Linked DNA regions of Homo sapiens: all the other regions are linked to region 4. Evidence: promoter capture Hi-C in 16 types of primary human blood cells and fetal thymus (Javierre and others, 2016). All regions are on one chromosome and are shown on one strand. Each heading gives the region's core, a stretch centred on a gene start or on the middle of the fragment in contact. The rest is flanking DNA. Distances are from core to core; before and after follow the strand shown.

Region 1 (3,010 bases), core at 439-2,938, 890 kb after region 4:
ACTGAAATTCATACGAGTAAACATGTAACTTATTGAAGTAAAACCATGTAAAGAAAATATGAGAAATTATCTTTAATGTGCTACTAGCTTTAGAAACAGAAACTGTTTACCAGCTTCTTAAATTTCTAAAGTGTGAAGACCTACAAATGTACTCCAATGGCCAAGAGATGCTGCAAAATACTCAACTGTTGTGCCTTAACTTTGAATCCAAATTCAAGGGGCATTCCCCTTCCTGGGCACTATTTACTCTGCTCCAGGAGGCAAGGATTTGAACTTCTCTCCAAATCTAAGTGTCCAAAAGTTTACCGGCATCACATGCCCAAATTTATCACAGAGAAGAGCTCATGTTACAATTCTGAAATATTGTGGTGCATGCAGGCTGAAACTCTGATGTGATCCTGTACCCACCACATGCCGGACTCCTTCCTAGAGTCACAAAAGAGGCCACATTGTTCCTGCCTATACACTCAACCTCAAAATTTGAAAAGCCCCTCTCCCTTCCCTAGTAATCAAAGGAGAATGAATGAAATGATAGCGGCCAAGTTCACAAGGCCAACACAGAATTTCTTTACCAGTTTTTCTCGTTTCTACATGGAACCTGTGTAACAAGACATTCAGTAATAGTAATCTGCTCTCAGAGAAAGAAACAATTAAATACCATACAGCGAAGCTGCTAATACTTTATTTAGGTGCTTTCTGTTCACATTCAAGACAGTCCTAACTCAGCTGGAGTTCCCCTTAAGCCAAATACTAGGAACAGCTTTATCAACCCGGCGTCTGGAACAATCGCTCGAACTACCGAGTTTAGGGGCGGGGGAGAAAACATTCGTGTCATCTGAGCCTTTTTTTTTTTTTAAACTCGCTGCCTGAGACTTCTATAGAGTTCAACAGGGAATCCAAAAATAGCTTTCCCATGACAGTGACAGCCGGAGTCGCCAGGAACGTAAAGGATTTTTTAAAAATTTAAGCAGGTGTTTGCTCCAAGGAGCGGACAACTGCAGGAGGCAATTTCCTTATCTGGGAAGGGGAAAAAGCGGAGTTGAGGGGAGCGAGGTTGAGTAAGGCGACGCGGGGTTTTTTAGGGGGTGGAATGAGCGAGGAAGAGGAGGCCTGGGGAGCAGAGGTCAGGGGACAGGGAACGGTGTCCCCGACCTGTGGGAAGCGTGGGGACAGAGGCTGCGTCCCGACCTGCAGGAAGCGAGGGGCAGGGAACGGTGTCCTCGACCAGCGGGAAGCGAGAGGACAGGGGCGGCGTCCCCGACCCGTGGGAAGCAAGCGGGTAGGGGCGGCGTCCCTGACCTGTGAAAAGCGAAGGGACAGGGGAGGCGTCCCCGACTGGTGGGAAGCGAGGGGACAGGGACTGCGTCCCCGACCTGCCGAGAGCGAAGGGGCGGGGGGCGGCGTCCCTGACCGCTGGGAAGCGAGGCGGCGGCCGCCAGGAGGAGGCGCCTGAAGGAGACTCACCGTTCTAGTGCGCGGGGAGGCCGAACCAGGAGGGCAGGGCTCCCCCACCAACCGCACGACTCCGCTCAGCCAAGGCGCTGGTAGAGGACGGACACAGACACTGCGCGCCGAGACGAGGCTGCTTGGACGGCAAACTCTGGATCCAGTGGGAGCCTTCGCCACCTTCGCTGGCCGCCCGCAGGCCAAGCCCCAGCTGCGGACGCCACTGCTTCCGCCTTCTCTGCTGGCTGCGGGGAGCGAGGGGCAGGGAGCGCGCCGGGGAGGAGACAGAGCGGCCGAGTTCGGAGAGAGTGCCCCCTGGCGGTGATCCTCCAGGCGGACTGTGGCGCGGGCCGGGCGGCGCCCCCAGCCCCGCAGCCTGGCTTTCTTCCTGCTCGGGTGTCCCACCTGGGAATTCGTTGCACCGCACAGCCGAACCCGAGTGTGTCAATGGGTGTGTGTTGGAATGAGGATGGCGACGAGAAGATCCCTCCCGGAATAACTTAATTTGGTGAGCAGTGGCGACAGTAGTAATCCCAAACTGCGCTTTTATAGCACCCCTCTCCAAGCAGGAGAAAACCCCAGCTGGGCTAGATCGCTTGACCTTCAGGAATTCTTAAACCCCTCCCCAGCTCCACCCTCCTTGCCCAGGAAGTTTCTGCGATCCATAGAACCCTCTATTATTACCTGCTCTTCCCCTTCATCCGGTCCAAGGGAGTCAGCCCTTGCCTTAAATATTTCTTTGAATTTCCTGCCAAGAACACCAGCGCTTTGTCTTTCTCTGTCATGGGAAAACTATTTTAAATTCCCTGTTTAACTGGTCATAAACGTCTAGAGAATGTACCACGCGTTTTGCTGGAGAAGCACAAAAGAGTTTCATCCACCTCTGCATATTTGGTTCATCGTCCACCTCTTAGGGGAGGTTTTCCAGGATAGTAGTCATGCGTATGTATCCTGAAGCCAGAATGCTTGGTTCCAATCCGGTTTTTCCTACAATAAATGTGTGATTCAGGTAAAATACTTAATCTGTACTTGTTTCAGTTTTCTCATCTCGTATTAACATGGGGATAATAATAGTATCTACCTCACAGGGTTGTTGGAAGGATGAGATAAAATATGTAAAGAAATTATTTAAAACTATCTGGCCAGGCACAAATAGGCTCATGCCTATAATCCCAGTACTTTGGGAGGCTAAGGCAGGAGGATCACTTGAGGCCAGGAATTTGAGACCAGCCTGGGCAACATAGTGAGACCCCATCTTTACACAAAATTTAAAAATTACCTGGGTGTGGTGGTGCATATCTGTAGTCTCGGCTACTCTGGAGGCTGAGGTGGGAGGATGGCTTGAGCCCTGGCAGTCAAGGCTACAGTAAGCCATGATTGCACCACTGCATTCCAGCCTGGGTGACAGAGTGAGACCCTGTCTCAAGGAACAAACGAACAAACAAATAAACCCAAAACTAGGACATAGTATGGGCTCAATAAATGTTACCAATACTATATGTCCTACTTTCTGGCTGCCAATATTCATTAAAAATGCTTCTCTTTTTAAGAAGAATTTATCACT
Region 2 (2,700 bases), core at 19-2,518, 560 kb after region 4:
AAGAAATGGAAGGACGGAGCTACCAGTAACAGAGATGGGGCAGGGGCACACATTGCAGAAAGAACACATCAGGAACTCAGCTAGGGATATATTACCTCCTGAAATTCAGTGTGGCCTTGGGTAGCTGATCTCGGGCAGAGATTGGTGACTCTTGTCCCCGTGTGTGGCTCAATGTTAACTTTTTAACGATCAGATGCTGACCTCTCCCAATAAAATGTATTAACTGCTGGCACCACTTCAAAACTCTGGCTAGTCTTTAAAATAACTAGTTAGCTTTCATTACAAAAGTAATACCTACACATGGTAAAAAAAAAAAAAAAAATCTAAGAATTACAGGACTAAGGTGAAAAAATAAGCCTTCCTCACTACCCCTGCTTATTGTTCTCTGTCTTTTTGCAGCTATTTTTCCACAAATTACTGTGTCCTGAGCCCTGAGCTAATTAAGTGCTGGATAAGCATCACCTCCCAGTAATCCTGTTATCAGCCTTTGAAATGTAGGTAGCTTTATTATCCACATTTTGCAGATGAGGAAACAGAGTCAGGTGAAGTGTCTTTTCCAAGGCCAAGCTCCTGAGGGCAGGGGCTCAAGCTTAGGCCTTCAGACTCCAAAGTCCAGACCGTCCCTGGGAACAAGCACCCTAGGTTTTCACATGGAGCCTCCGAAACGCCTCTGGCATCTCCTGCTGTGGGGTTGGATATGAGCTGTCTTATATAGACCCTACCTAAATTAAATTAAAATCGACTAATTAAATGTGGCCTCTTTGAATACACTGCCGTATTTCTAATTACAGCTTTCCTTCTCTCCTGAGAAGGCAGCCCAACATTGTTTCTGAAAAGGTCCTCAATTACTAATGGTTGGATAACATTTTGAAAATGTAAGTGTCATTAAATTGTTAGTTAGAAGGCCCTGAGTGGGGATGAGAGGATGGAAGTCAGTTGTCAACCGTCTCCTCTCTCTCTCTGTTTCTGTCTCTGTCTCTCACACTTTCTCTCTCTCACTGTTTCTCTCTCTGTAATACACATATGCACATCCTTATCTCACAATTGACCCAAAGCATCAGAAATAAAAAGTCAGACTGAGTGACCTTAGCTGCTAGGAAGCATCTTATTGTGCCTTCCCTCCCTCTCTGACTTTGGCCTTGACACTGATCTGAGCCTGCAGATAACAGAAAGGAGGAGCTTATCTAGACAGGAGTGGTGGAAGTAGCCAGTAACAAATCATTGAAGTGAGGAGAATGAAGGTAAAGAAATTGATCAGCTTTAAATAGGAGGTGACTCCGCATTCCTCTTGCTTGGAAATGATCCCCAGGATGGAATTGTGTCCAGGGTGTGAGGTTGTTTGTGAATCAGTCCTTTCCAGATAGAATATATGAGGCTTGAAACTACATAGTGCTTATCACCAAGAGGTATATAGGTTTGTCAGAGCAAGAAGACCACTCTCCCCTCCACCTGCCCCCGCAAAAAAAAAGAAAGGTAGTATAGAGACTTAGAAAGTAGAGAAATATAGGTAGAAGTACAGTACCTTTGAGTGACCTTCAGAATTCGGTCCTCTTGGCTCAAAATTTTGGCATCATTTCAACAAACTATTTTTTTTCTCTCCTCATTTGATTTCCCCTTCAAGAAGACAGGGAGTGAGTGGGCTCCAATCTTGGCAACGTTGGCTGCTTATTAGAGCATTTGCAGGCCTAGGAGATTTGCTCCTCCTCTTGGTATCTGAAGTTCCACAAGCCCCTTGTTCACTTCCCCTGGAGTAGGGATTGTGGAATGTTGCCACTCACCTTCAGTTCCCTGTTGAAGCTCTTGCAGACCCCTAATAGTGCATGCTACCGTTCTGCAGAGAAGACCATGATGACAAACCACAGACATCCCCCTTCATCTATTGTCTTCTGTGTCTTTGGGAAGGCATTCCTGGAATGACTGGGGGCTGTGTGTCTCAGTTTAATAATGCAAGCTTTTGGTTTTTGTTAAACACATGCAGAGCCTGATATTAAGCATTAAACCAAGGAGCTAGGCTAAGACAGTTGTGTCAAGAAGTTGTTGTCTTTGAAGAAGCACAAGGAATTTAAAGGGATGAGGAAACAAGAAGGGGGCCTATCCAGTTGGGACCACAATACAAAATTGAATTTATCATTTATGAATAATGGCTTCTAGTTTTTGAGTACTTACAGGGTCCCAGGCACTGTAGATGGTGGGACGTAGACGGTGGGATGGTGGGAAGGTGGGAGACCCAGAGAGCTTAAGTGATCCAGCCCTAGACACACGGTGTTAGTTAACTTTTGGGAGACACTTCACAAGCTGGTGTGAATGAAAGAAAAGCAGCATGTACTTTTACAAACCTTAATTTAAGCAAAGGTAATAAATTTCAACCTACTCAAAGCAGAACTAGGGTGTGATTACTTGCTTTGTAAAAGATTTTTTGCTTTGGAAAGTTAGAAATACTGGTTTTCAAAATATGTTTTGATTTTCCTATCTAAACCTCTATTGGATTAAAGTAAAACATGTTGACCATATTACGTGGAGAAATATTGCACACTCTGTCCAGCTATGCTGGATGAAAAGGTTGCAGTCAGTGAAGGGTGAAAAACTTAGTCTAGTTTGGACAAGAAGAAAAAATTAACTTCTGAACTTTACCACCTAGATGTCACTACTCTAATACTTCTCAAAGTATAGATGGACACCACACCTGCTAATATTGCATGT
Region 3 (3,061 bases), core at 246-2,745, 870 kb after region 4:
TCATTATCTGTAATTCAATACATTAAAACAGATTTTTTTTTTAAACTCTACCTCCAGTCAGTTCTTCCTGTGTTCACTCTTTTTTGCCGAATGGCCCTTCCATCTACCCAGTGACAAAGGCCAGAAACCAAGAGTCATTCTAGACGCCTCCCTCTCCTTCACTCATCACATTTATTTAGTCACACAGGCAGTAGATCTTCTCTCCTAAATATGTACTGGCTCCTAGGTCTATCTTGACGGTCATCGCCATAATTCAAGCTGTCTTCACTTAGGTATTCCAACAGCTCAGGTACTAGTACCCCCACCTCCACCTCAAATCATCTACATTGCTATTGGGTTGAACTAGCACAACACAAACTACTTGTAGTTCCTCAAATCACCATGCTCACTCTTTCTCACTGGTCTTCTCTCCTTTGTCTTCTTGGAAAACTATTTCACCTGTCAAGATTCAGCCCAAAGCATCATGTTTTGTCAAGTCTGTCTGAATGCTTTAGGCATTGCTAAGTATGCCTTTGCTTCTGCTCACAGCATCCATGAATAACTCTATTATATCACTTATTACACTGCTTTACAACTACATCTACATTCTTGTTGTTATTCTCCACTACATGATGTAAATATTTTTTTTTACTTATATTCAAGAATTAAAAGAAAAAAAAACCTTACCTTTTCATGGCAACCAAAAGTACTGAATGTGCATGGAATTGGGGCTGTAGGGCAGTCTAGATCATAATGATTAGGCATCTGAAATCCAAAACAAAGGCTGAAAAATCTCTTCCTTGCATATCATTTTCTAGTTTGATGCGATCACATTTAAACTGTATTGTCAATGGCTGCTTTGTACCACATTGGCAGTTGAATAGGTGCAGCATAAACCATCACCCACAAAAATTAAAAGAACATCTACTTTCAAAAGTTATAGAGAAAGGAAATATCAACATCTCATAATATCCCCTCCAATTATCCAAAATTCATTTCAAGAAAATGAATTTGTTCCTCTTGCTGGGAACTGGCACCCTCTAGTGGCACTTTACAGAAAAAACACCTAACAATAGCTACAAGTGCAAACTGGATTAAGACTCCCACTATGGTCTAGGCCATTTAATAGGAACCAGTCAACTGCATGCACTGAAGCCACTGACTACACCCATACTTGCCTCATGACCACCTCTCAAAAATCATCTTTGACCACCTTTCAACAATCTTCTTAACTTTTGTTAAGCTGGGCATATTTTAGCTACAATGGGGAGACTCAGATGTTAGAAGGTACTTTAAACACATTAATAGAAGCTCTAAAAAAAGTCTCAGTCCTGGATTTTGGGACTCTAAGACACATTCTCTAAGGTAAGATCCTTTATACTCAATCATATTTTTTCAAAGAGGTGCCAAATTCCCTTTAGAAATTTAATGTAGCTATAGTTGTAGATATTTCAAACAGGAAGTACCTGAGAGACCATTTATTATAATTCAATCCTTCATTTCTCAAGAGGGAACAGTGTAGAACAGGGGCCAATAAAATTTTTTGTAAAGGATCAGATAGTAAATATGGGCTGTACTGCCTCTGTCCTAAGTATTAAACTCTACCATTGTCATACAAAAGTAGCCATACACAAGACATACACACATGGGTATGACTGTCTTTCAATAAAACTTTATTTACAAAAACAGGTAGAGAGACAGATCTAGCTGGCAGGCCAGTTTGCTGATCCCAGATCTATTTAGAATGTCAACTTGTTAAAGATGAGAGGGCACAGTTAAAATCACAGTTTAAACCTAGGACTAAAACCCAGGTTTTCTGACTCTTAGCCTAGGGTTTTTTCTTGTATTTTCTTTTGCTGGGTTTTAATTTGTTGCATGGTTTCCTTTAAATGTTAAAAGACAGCAAAAAGGAAAACGAGTTAGGACTTCATAAGCAAAAGATGTTTAACACCTTCAAATTAAGGCTTTGTTGGAAAAATTAAGAGACTGTTAACAAACCAATGAAAAAGTTTTAAGGTTAACAAACTTGTCCAGTGACAGGTTTTGCTTGCTGCTTCTCAGTAAGGTATATCAATAATGATCTCTGGGTTTACAGATTTCATGGGTATATAAATATTTAATGGTTAATATTCATATTTTGTGGGTAAACTCCCCAAATGTCAGAAGATAGCAATCAGATGGAATTTTCCTTTCTCTACTAATAGTCAAAACAATCTTTGGGCTGGGCTTGGTGGCTCACACCTATAATTCTAGCACTGTGGGAGGCTAAAGCAGGTAGATTGCTTGAGCTCAGGAGTTCGAGACCAGTCTAGGCAATATAACAAGACCCCGTTTCTACAAAAAATCTAAAAAAATAAAAAATTAGCCGGGCATGGTGGTGCACGCCCGTAGTCCCAGCTCTTTGGGAGGCTGAGGTAGGAGGATCGCCTGAGCCAGGAATTTGAGGCTGCAGTGAGCCATGACTGTGTCAATGCACTCCAGCTTAGGCAACAGAGTGAGACTCTATCTCAAGAAACAAAAAAACCCCACCATATAATTTTCTATTACAATTACTACTTCTAATGATGCCCGGTCAGTGGCCTACAGGACAACTGAACAGAAGGGCTACAGGTCCTAAAAATCTGAAAACTTCCCTGTATGCCTCAGGGATTACAGCTACAAATATTATTCTCCTACTGAACAGAACTGCCTTCCTTTATTTCGCTGTTCCCTCTTATTCTTTCAGCCAATCTCTGGACACTTGAGATCCTCATTTCACAGTGTGTAAATATATATATATATATCTTAGTTTTTTCTTTCTTTAAATGGGGACCCTTACTTTTGATTATTTTTATCTTAAAATTGGTTTTGTTGGGAATTTTTATGAATATACAAAAGCACAGGTATTATGTTAATGACTTAGGAATTTTAAGTACTTAAAAAGGGCTGGATGTTTTGTTCTCCCTGAAAGTATTTATTACTTATATTAATTTATATAAAAAATTTTCACACAGCTCTAATACTTCTTCAATCTGTATTTCTTTGCCTTATTGATTTAAATTTTCAATTAAAAAACCTAATTCACTTCTTTAAGCTGTTTATG
Region 4 (3,054 bases), core at 555-3,054:
AAGAGTTATAAAATGGCATGGTATAGCCACCATGTGGTTGGGAACAGATTCAACAGTTCATCCAGTATGTACTTAACCACACCAGTGAAAACACTTGACTGTATCCTGGGTCAGTGCTGCAATACTCCAAATGTGGTTTTTTGATGCCTCTGCTCAGCCATAAACATAAGAGTGTCTGCTTTATCACCCTGGAACGCTCTATCACCCTAGAACGTTTTTTCTTTGGAGAATAAAACATAATCAGTGCCAACTGATGAGGTAGTCCAGTTGAAAACCCCCATGTGCACCTGATGGGAAGATGAAAGGAGAGAAAAGATACACACCATGTAAGGAAACAGATTTCAAACTCTGGCCTTTGAGAGGTGGATTCCACCATGCCCCTGATCTTGTGTCTACCCTGGGAATCTCAGTGTGGATCTGGGACTCATTCTGATACAGAGAGGTAAGGGAGGGCCGACTGGCATCCAAGTTTTCCTGGTAAATGTAACCCAGAGGTGGCTGGAAGATGTGTTGGGGTGAAGAGGTTGTTCATTTTGTTTTCTTTGCTCCTTCACCACCTCCCTCCCCCACCACCACCACCATTTCTTTTTCCCTTAAATCGTAAAAGCAGTAAATCAAATGCAGTATGGGATTGAGGTTTTTTTCCTTTCCATTTGAAAAATCCTTTTAATTGAAAAATCACATTTGGGGAACAAAGTGGTCAAATGACAGTGAATTTCAAACTTGAGAATGCTGACTTGATTAAAAAAAAAATACTGATCTTTCTTAATGGAGGGAAAATCAAGTGCATGCGGCCAGGAGACCTGAGTTTGACTTTTAGCTTCGCCCCTTGCTAATTGTGCAATCCTGAGCAACACCCATCCCTTCTCTGTGCCTCAGTTTCCTCATGGACAAAACGGTATCATTTCTTTCGAAAAGTCGTCCCTGACTCCCCTCTCCCCAACACGAGGTTGGATGGCTATAATCTCTCTTAGCAACCTGAGAGTCCCACTGGAATGTAAATTTCAGCAGCACTGGGACCCGGATCTGTGGATTTTGCTTCTGGTAAGCAGAACCAGAACTGAGGGGCAGTCGCTGTGTTGAATGGATGCATGAATGAATGGGAGATGGCCTAGGTGTTCAAGGGGCACGTGCACAGCGAGGCTTCATTCCCTGGGAGTCCGTTGGGAAAGGCAGAGCGGCCAATACTGATTGGTGCTGATGTGCGAGCTCGGAAAAGGGAGTGTCGGTTCAAAGTTGTTGGCTACAGCGGGTTCCTCTTTCCGCTGGAATCACATCCTCTGTGGCTCGGAGACATTCCCAGAGATTTACATAAAGCAGCGTGAATCACCCAGACAGAAACTGAGAAAGCAAAGGGACCCTGCCTGATCCTAGCCTGGCGGAGCTCGGAAAGAGGTGGAAATCTGTCTGAAGTTTGCAGGAGACCCGCGCTGCCTAGGCAAAGGGACCCGGCGACCAAGACACCCCCGCGAGGGCCCAGGGCGCGTCCCTCCCGCCAGGCCCCAGACTCCGGCTCTGCGCCACCCCCTCCTACGCCCCGGCGCGGGCGCAGCCAGTCCGGCTTCCTCCAGGCCCCCAAGTCCCGGACCGAGTGTGGGGCCGCCTCTCCCTCTCGGAAGGAGCCATCGCCGCTTTAAGTGGAAGAGGAGAGGAAGGGGGCGGGGGAGCGGGGGGCGGGGAGCGGAGGCGGAGGAGGGGGAGGGGGATCCCCCTGGCTCCCACGTGGTCCGGGCGCCTGTGAATCGCGCCCACCGGAGGGTCTCACAGCGAAATACAAAAGCAGCTGGGAAGCGGCGGGGACTCGAGTTCCCAGCGCCGGGCGGAGCGCCGGACAGAGCCCCGCAGCGCCCCGCGGCCGCGATGGGGCCGAAGCGCCCGAAGCCCCGGAGCCCACAAACTGCCGGGCCCGCCTCGCCGCCGGGACCCGGGTGCCTGGGCTCGGCTTGAAGCGGCGGCGGCGCACCGGCACAGCCGCGGGAGCATGGGCAGGAGGATGCGGGGCGCCGCCGCCACCGCGGGGCTCTGGCTGCTGGCGCTGGGCTCGCTGCTGGCGCTGTGGGGAGGGCTCCTGCCGCCGCGGACCGAGCTGCCCGCCTCCCGGCCGCCCGAAGACCGACTCCCACGGCGCCCGGCCCGGAGCGGCGGCCCCGCGCCCGCGCCTCGCTTCCCTCTGCCCCCGCCCCTGGCGTGGGACGCCCGCGGCGGCTCCCTGAAAACTTTCCGGGCGCTGCTCACCCTGGCGGCCGGCGCGGACGGCCCGCCCCGGCAGTCCCGGAGCGAGCCCAGGTGGCACGTGTCAGCCAGGCAGCCCCGGCCGGAGGAGAGCGCCGCGGTGCACGGGGGCGTCTTCTGGAGCCGCGGCCTGGAGGAGCAGGTGCCCCCGGGCTTTTCGGAGGCCCAGGCGGCGGCGTGGCTGGAGGCGGCTCGCGGCGCCCGGATGGTGGCCCTGGAGCGCGGGGGTTGCGGGCGCAGCTCCAACCGACTGGCCCGTTTTGCCGACGGCACCCGCGCCTGCGTGCGCTACGGCATCAACCCGGAGCAGATTCAGGGCGAGGCCCTGTCTTACTATCTGGCGCGCCTGCTGGGCCTCCAGCGCCACGTGCCGCCGCTGGCACTGGCTCGGGTGGAGGCTCGGGGCGCGCAGTGGGCGCAGGTGCAGGAGGAGCTGCGCGCTGCGCACTGGACCGAGGGCAGCGTGGTGAGCCTGACACGCTGGCTGCCCAACCTCACGGACGTGGTGGTGCCCGCGCCCTGGCGCTCGGAGGACGGCCGTCTGCGCCCCCTCCGGGATGCCGGGGGTGAGCTGGCCAACCTCAGCCAGGCGGAGCTGGTGGACCTAGTACAATGGACCGACTTAATCCTTTTCGACTACCTGACGGCCAACTTCGACCGGCTCGTAAGCAACCTCTTCAGCCTGCAGTGGGACCCGCGCGTCATGCAGCGTGCCACCAGCAACCTGCACCGCGGTCCGGGCGGGGCGCTGGTCTTTCTGGACAATGAGGCGGGCTTGGTGCACGGCTACCGGGTAGCAGGCATGTGGGACAAGTATAACGA
Region 5 (2,821 bases), core at 58-2,557, 620 kb after region 4:
TGTGCAGTTTTCGGGGCTGAATCCAGGGCCTCTGGAGAAATGCAGCTTTGCCAGGCAGGGCTGGCTTTGCAGAAGCTCTTCTTTTTAGCTGAGTTTCCAGGGTTTCGGCTCACATGACTTTGGTGTCCCTGTACCCCAACCCCCACTGCAGGGATCCCTGGACCCCAGAGGGTGTTTTGGCATTTTGTTGTACTTCTCATCTGAGTCCAAAGCTTACTTGGGGTGGATTTGTCTCTGGCAGTAAACAACCACAGACTGTGGATGGTGCCGTGGCAGATGCTCCTCTGGAGAGAGGCTCTCAGTCTGGGCACATACCCACTGCCTGTCTGGGCAGAACTAAAGGAGTGAGCCAGAAGAACAGTCCTCACTCTGCGACTTCCCAGTTTAATTGCTTCTTCACATCTGTGGTTTTCTTTTTTTAATTTTTCTTTCTTTTTTTTTTTTTTTTTTTTTAGAGATAGGGTCTCGCTCTGTCACCCAGGCTGGAGTGTAGTGATGCAGCCACAGCTCACTGCAGCATTCAATCCTCCTGCTTTACCCTCCCCTGTAGCTAGGACTACAGGCATAGGCCACCGCACCTGGATTTTTTTTATTTTTTATTTTTTTTATTTTTTGTAGATACAGGGTCTTGCTATGTTGCCCAGGCTGGTCTCGAATTCCTGGTCTCAAGCAATCCTCTTGCCTCCACCTCCAAAATGCTGGGGCTACAGCTGTGAGCCACCACACCCACTCATATCTGTGGTTTCCCACTGACTTTGTCATCTTAATTCTGGTGTCATGAAACATTTCAGAGTTGGCAGAAACTGGGGGCAGGAAGCAGTCAGGAAGCCCCTGGACGAGAGGTCTGCTAGGAAGGGCTTGGCCCATTGGTATGAAGCCTGAGAGAGTGGGTTTGTGCCTGCACCCTGCTCAGAAGCCTCTTTCAAGCAAACGAGTGCTGATAGAATGGTTCTGCTCTTCACAATGAGATCCATGGCCCTTCCTACCACTCAGAATGGGCTCCTCTGTCATCTCAGGGTATGCCAGAAAGATACTCTGTTATGCACAATTCCCAAAGATAGACAAGCCCAGGCCAGTCCTGGCTTCCATGCACCCCAGGGCTTTTTCCGTGTCTAAGACCCTTCTCTATGCCTCAACAACCCTGTCTGTAAAATGGGAGAGAAACTGGCCAGCAGCCCAGGGAGAATCCCCATTCCAGAGAGTCTTGGTCCCAGTAGACAGGCATGGGGCTTGGCAGCACTGACAGCAGGGAAATTCTACCTCTCAAAGAAAGGGCTGGGGGAGGATTCTGAAGATAGTATCTCAATAGGCCTTATATCTTGACTAAATTGCATGTTGGAATTTAATTTGGAATCCCTGCTGTTTCCTTGATGAACGCAAACCACACTGCAATTAGAGTGATGAAGCGGGATGCTGCCGCGTCTGACAAGGGTGATCTGTCTAAGCAGGGAGGGAGGGGACAGGCAGTTGGCAGGTGCCTGGTGGACTCATGCTGGGCATATTCTCAGCATCTCTCCAACTAGACAGAGGCCATCAGGGGAGAGGAAGGAGTTCAGGGGACAGAGATTGTGTGGTCTAACAGCTCACGGGGCAGAGTGGAGGGGAGAGTTTCAGGGGACTTTCTTGGATTGTACTCCATGGCTTATCCACTGCAGTGTCCTGGGCCCACATGACACCAAGTACAGCAGATTAAGCTCATGACTTGTGTCTCAGAATCTCGCCTCTTCCACCCTCCCACTATGGAAGGAAATAAACATTTATTTAGCACTTCCTTTGTGCCAGGCACTGGGCTAGGTGCTCTAAAGGCATTATCTCATTTAATCCACCCAGCAATCTCATGAGATAGGCACTCTTATCTCCATTTTACACATGCAAAACCTGTGAGCCAAGAGGTTAAATAACTTGCACACAAGGTCACAGAGCTCATAAGTGATGACGGTAGGTAGGATCTTAACCCAATGGTCTGGGTCCAAGTTCCCTTTCCACCTTACCCATGCATCTGCCAAGGCCCCAGCCTTTGAGAGACTGAGCTGGTCTCTCCCTAATCATCTGCTACTTCCTCCAAAGGATTCTTGTTCCTGCTATCTGCACATCCCCATACTGGCTCATTGAAAGGGGAACCTGCTCTCTCTCCACCCTCCTTGCTACTTCTTCCCTGCTGGAGGAGGGCTAGCTTATCTGATGCATGCATGTAGGAGAGTTGCCAGTTGATGGGACCATATGAAACAGGTGCCCTGAGCATACCTGCCCTCCATCTCTGGGTGGAAAGCAGACTCTGCAGAGTCCACTGCTGGAAGCCTGAGCCAGGTGTTTGCTCTCTGACAACAGCTCTTCCATCTGGAACTAGATCGAATGCTCAGTGTGGCCATTTCTGCAGAGACATCACAGATAGAGGTAGAAAGAAAAGCTTCATTTGGCCTCAGTCTTGGTTGCGTACTCTCGAACCTGACTTTTAAGCCCCATTTTGTTCAGTTCTCTGTATTGATACATTATAGGCCAGAATTCAGGAAAGGAAGAAAGAGGCTATTGCTTCAAACCTAACCCCCAACTTACAGGCACTGGAGCTGGATATCCTTGCTCCCAGGCTGGGGTGTTGCAGTAGAGGAGACTTTTCCCAGAAACTGCCGCAGAGCACCCAGGCAAAGGATATTTCCTGCTGAGCTCCCAACACATTCTTCTTCCTGATACTCCAAATCCAAACCATCAGAGAGGAGATGCAAGAGAGCCAGAGAGCTCCCAGAACCAGACTCAGGGGAAGAACAGAAGCAATTCCACTGGAAAGTTTACATATAGACAGTGGGCCCTGGAGCAGTAGAACAAG
Region 6 (2,922 bases), core at 235-2,734, 640 kb after region 4:
ACACCTGGCACGCTTCTTGGCTGACTTCTTCTGTGACCAGGGCCTCTGATAGCCCTGTTCCCCTCCCTGCATGTTGTTTGTATCTTCTTTTCCTAGTTTTCTTTGATTCAGATAAGCTCAGGGGCTCCTGAGCCGATCTTGTCTTCCTTTGATGGATGGGTGGCAAGGGAGTAGGGCTGGGGCCAGGGGCCCGTCTGTGGAGGGTGGAGGCAGATGGCGTGGGGCAAGGCAGCAGGCAGGTAGGAGAAATGAAAGGGCTTCACATCAAAGAAAGAGAAGCCAATCAACTGGAGTATTCTCTGTCCTCTGAGATTGGATCTGAGCTCTAATTTGTGAATCTTAGTTAAGTTTTGAAAACCAAAAGCAAGGGGCTGCTGGACCTCCTGCCTAACAAAAGTGTTTGTTGAAAAGATTCAGAACCGTGACAAAGATATAGCTCCCGCAGAGCTCTAAAGAGAAGGGAATTCAAGCTCCAGAAGGTGGGGACCCCACAGTGAAAATGACAAACAGGGTTCACACTCTCCTAGAGCTTGTCTTCCAGTGGGAGTACACAGACAATGCCAAACAAGATCATTTCAGCAAGTGTGATATGTAAAAAAGATGCTCTGTGACTTTGGGTTGAGTGGTCAAGGAAGCCTCCCTGAGAAGGTCACACTGGGGCTGAACCCTGCGCAGCCACATGTGGATCTGGGGGAAGTGTATTCTAGGGTGACCAAAGAGTTGGTGCCAAGGTCTTGTGCAGAAGGGAGTTCAATGTGATTGAGGAACAGAGGGAGGTCAGCATGCCTGGGGAAAGTGCAGGGAGGAGAGGGGGCCCACTGAGCCGGGGAGGCTGGGACAAGGAGCGCAGGTGTTATGGTGAGCCTCGTGGCAGGTTTTAAGTGTAAGAGTGATGACATCTGATGGGTTTAAAGTGACCACTCAGCCATCTGGCACAGAATGGATTTCAGGGGACAACAGAAGGGGTGAAGCCTGTTAGGAGGATGTCAGGAGTCCAGGTGAGGGCTACACCTAAACTAGTGTGGACAGTGGGACTGAAGGGCATGGCAAATGGCCCCACGTTGTGAACAGAGAAGAGAACCGCTCTTTACAACTCGTGAGGGAGCGATCACAAAGGAGCCTCACTTGACGGTGCCACAGGGTGGGGCTCTGAGGAAAGGAGGCAGATCACAGCCAGGTCTGCACTGTCTAGGATAAAAAGGGTTTGGGAGGAGTACCTGATTCCAGCCCCATTCCTAGCATGAGCGAGTCTCTTTTATCCCAGGGCTCAGCAGATGGGAGGGCAGGCGACTTACCCCGGGACTGGGCAGCTGATGGCGGGCCTTCTTTCTGGACTAGTGCTCCCCCTGCAGGAATCGCTGAATGCATAGCTTAGAAAAGTGAGAAGCTTCAGGATGAGGCCAGGACACGTGTGTAGTGAGGCCCAGAGTTCTGTGTTGTGGTAGCCTCTGAGCCCTGGCAGCTCCAGCCCTGGGGAGGACTATCCGTGCAGCTTCCACTGTTTGTCTGGATGGAGTACAGAGCTTCCGCAGGTGCTCCATCTTCGTCGGCAGCAAGGTTCAGAGGGAAAAGGTCCAGGACAAAGCTTAAGGAAGGACAGGTCAGCAGGGACCCACTTCTTCCTACTCTCCCACAGCTGGCCAGGCTCCCAGCAGCCCCACCTCCAGCATGCAGGAGCAGCTGGGGACTGCTGGGCTGGAGACGGCATGAAGGTGCTGTAGAGGCACCCCTGGGAACCACTGTGCTGGTGGAGAGGGACAGAAGAGAGGAGAAAGAGCTTCAGAACAAATGCAGACCACTCAAGACTTGGTTCTCCCTGGGGCAACCTCCCAGACCTAAGTCCATTCACTCACTCACTCACCAATATTTGAGACACCAGTGATATAGCCAAGAGGCAAAATGAGGAAAGAAGCAGGGAAGGAAGAAAAGAAGGGAGGGAGGAAAAAGAGAAAGGGATGGAGGAAAAGGGCACAGGCCCCGCCCTTATAAACCTCATAGCCTAGTAGAAAAAAAAACAGGAATCAAAGAATTACAGGCCCATGAGTTGGAGGTTCCAGCCAGACTGAATGAGCGTGAATTCCTGCAGTCAGTTCTGAGCCCTTCACTGTCTCCTCTGAGCCTTTGCATGCGCTGTCCCTCTGCCTGGCCATCTTCCCTGTGTCCCTCCCTCCTTTATCAGGGGAGGGAGCAGAACTGAGGCTGGGCCAGTAGGACATGTTCACTGGGGCAGCTAAAGGCTCAATTGAGGTCTGAGGAGGGGAGACTAGCAGGGCAAATAGTCCTGCCGCTGCTATCCGTAGACGCTTCTCATTCAGAGGGACCATGGCCTGGGGGGCTTTCTTGTGATGACCCTCAGCAGTGACATGAGTGGGATGGGGTTTCCAGTCCCCATGGCATGTGCTTCCCCTCAACCTTTCACCAACGACCTACCACGTGCCAAAGACTAAGCACTGGGGATAGAAGGTGAACGAGACTGGTGTGGCCCCCCGCCCTGCTCTCAGACCTGCCAATCTCCAGGGTTTGTTTTCTTGAGACTCCTGACGCTGCCTGGCCCGAGTCAGCACTAGGGATTCCTGATCTCTGCATATCCCTTCCCAGCCATCCAAGATAGCAAGAGCTGTTACCCTCTGGCTAACTCTTACTTATGCTTCCAGTCTCAGTCAGATGTCATGTCCCCAGCTCAGCCTCCCCGGGGGTCCCTTGACATGGTCCACAACCCCTGTACCTCCCCATCATTGCCCTGGGCCAGAACAGGCTCTGACTGTGTCTCAATAGAGACAAAAAAACTCTGAGATCACAATACCACTTTGGCTTCCTAATTTTCTGTCCAATCTTTGGGGGGCCAGTGCCAACCAGGCCTTGAAGACTGATATTCCTCTATGGGATGAGAGATGCTTGCCTCCCTCTCTGGACTCTTATGGG

Evidence for each region. The method cuts DNA at HindIII sites, captures the fragments that hold promoters and counts their contacts. A CHiCAGO score of 5 or more calls a contact.
Region 1: the fragment with the promoter of TRAF6 here is called in contact with the fragment with the promoter of FJX1 in region 4 in 9 of 17 cell types (naive CD4 T cells, monocytes, total CD8 T cells and 6 more); the score reaches 10.8 in naive CD4 T cells.
Region 2: a contact is called between a fragment that was not itself captured here and the fragment with the promoter of FJX1 in region 4, in 1 of 17 cell types (erythroblasts). The highest score is 5.2, in erythroblasts.
Region 3: a fragment that was not itself captured here is called in contact with the fragment with the promoter of FJX1 in region 4 in 2 of 17 cell types (naive CD4 T cells and total CD4 T cells); the score reaches 6.5 in naive CD4 T cells.
Region 5: a contact is called between a fragment that was not itself captured here and the fragment with the promoter of FJX1 in region 4, in 11 of 17 cell types (M0 macrophages, erythroblasts, naive CD8 T cells and 8 more). The highest score is 8.5, in M0 macrophages.
Region 6: a fragment that was not itself captured here is called in contact with the fragment with the promoter of FJX1 in region 4 in 16 of 17 cell types (erythroblasts, megakaryocytes, M0 macrophages and 13 more); the score reaches 25.5 in erythroblasts.

What each region holds. Positions count from the first base shown.
Region 1 is chr11:36,508,584-36,511,593 of GRCh38, forward strand. It overlaps TRAF6 (TNF receptor associated factor 6), which reads right to left and starts at 1,689. Exons shown (of 7, transcript NM_004620.4): 1 at 1,465-1,689. It also overlaps a transcript of RAG1 not described here. RefSeq lists an enhancer at 1,508-1,557. The HindIII fragment of the contact is 10,105 bases long and covers 1-3,010 here.
Region 2 is chr11:36,180,926-36,183,625 of GRCh38, forward strand. The region is part of intron 4 of LDLRAD3 (low density lipoprotein receptor class A domain containing 3); the gene reads left to right. Among named protein-coding and RNA genes, the nearest start is that of COMMD9, 110 kb to the right of the region's middle. RefSeq lists a silencer at 1,614-1,908. The HindIII fragment of the contact is 1,362 bases long and covers 588-1,949 here.
Region 3 is chr11:36,491,885-36,494,945 of GRCh38, forward strand. TRAF6 (TNF receptor associated factor 6) reads right to left here. Exons shown (of 7, transcript NM_004620.4): 6 at 667-744. Among named protein-coding and RNA genes, the nearest start is that of TRAF6, 17 kb to the right of the region's middle. The HindIII fragment of the contact is 9,692 bases long and covers 1-3,061 here.
Region 4 is chr11:35,616,656-35,619,709 of GRCh38, forward strand. It overlaps FJX1 (four-jointed box kinase 1), which reads left to right and starts at 1,805. Exons shown (of 1, transcript NM_014344.4): 1 at 1,805-3,054. The coding sequence starts at 1,982. RefSeq lists silencers at 1,393-1,482, 1,513-1,842, 1,664-1,825, 1,923-1,992, 2,013-2,272 and 1 more and enhancers at 2,125-2,759, 2,760-3,054. The HindIII fragment of the contact is 8,334 bases long and covers 1-3,054 here.
Region 5 is chr11:36,239,615-36,242,435 of GRCh38, forward strand. No RefSeq gene overlaps it. Among named protein-coding and RNA genes, the nearest start is that of COMMD9, 48 kb to the right of the region's middle. The HindIII fragment of the contact is 2,195 bases long and covers 211-2,405 here.
Region 6 is chr11:36,257,602-36,260,523 of GRCh38, forward strand. No RefSeq gene overlaps it. Among named protein-coding and RNA genes, the nearest start is that of COMMD9, 30 kb to the right of the region's middle. The HindIII fragment of the contact is 198 bases long and covers 1,386-1,583 here.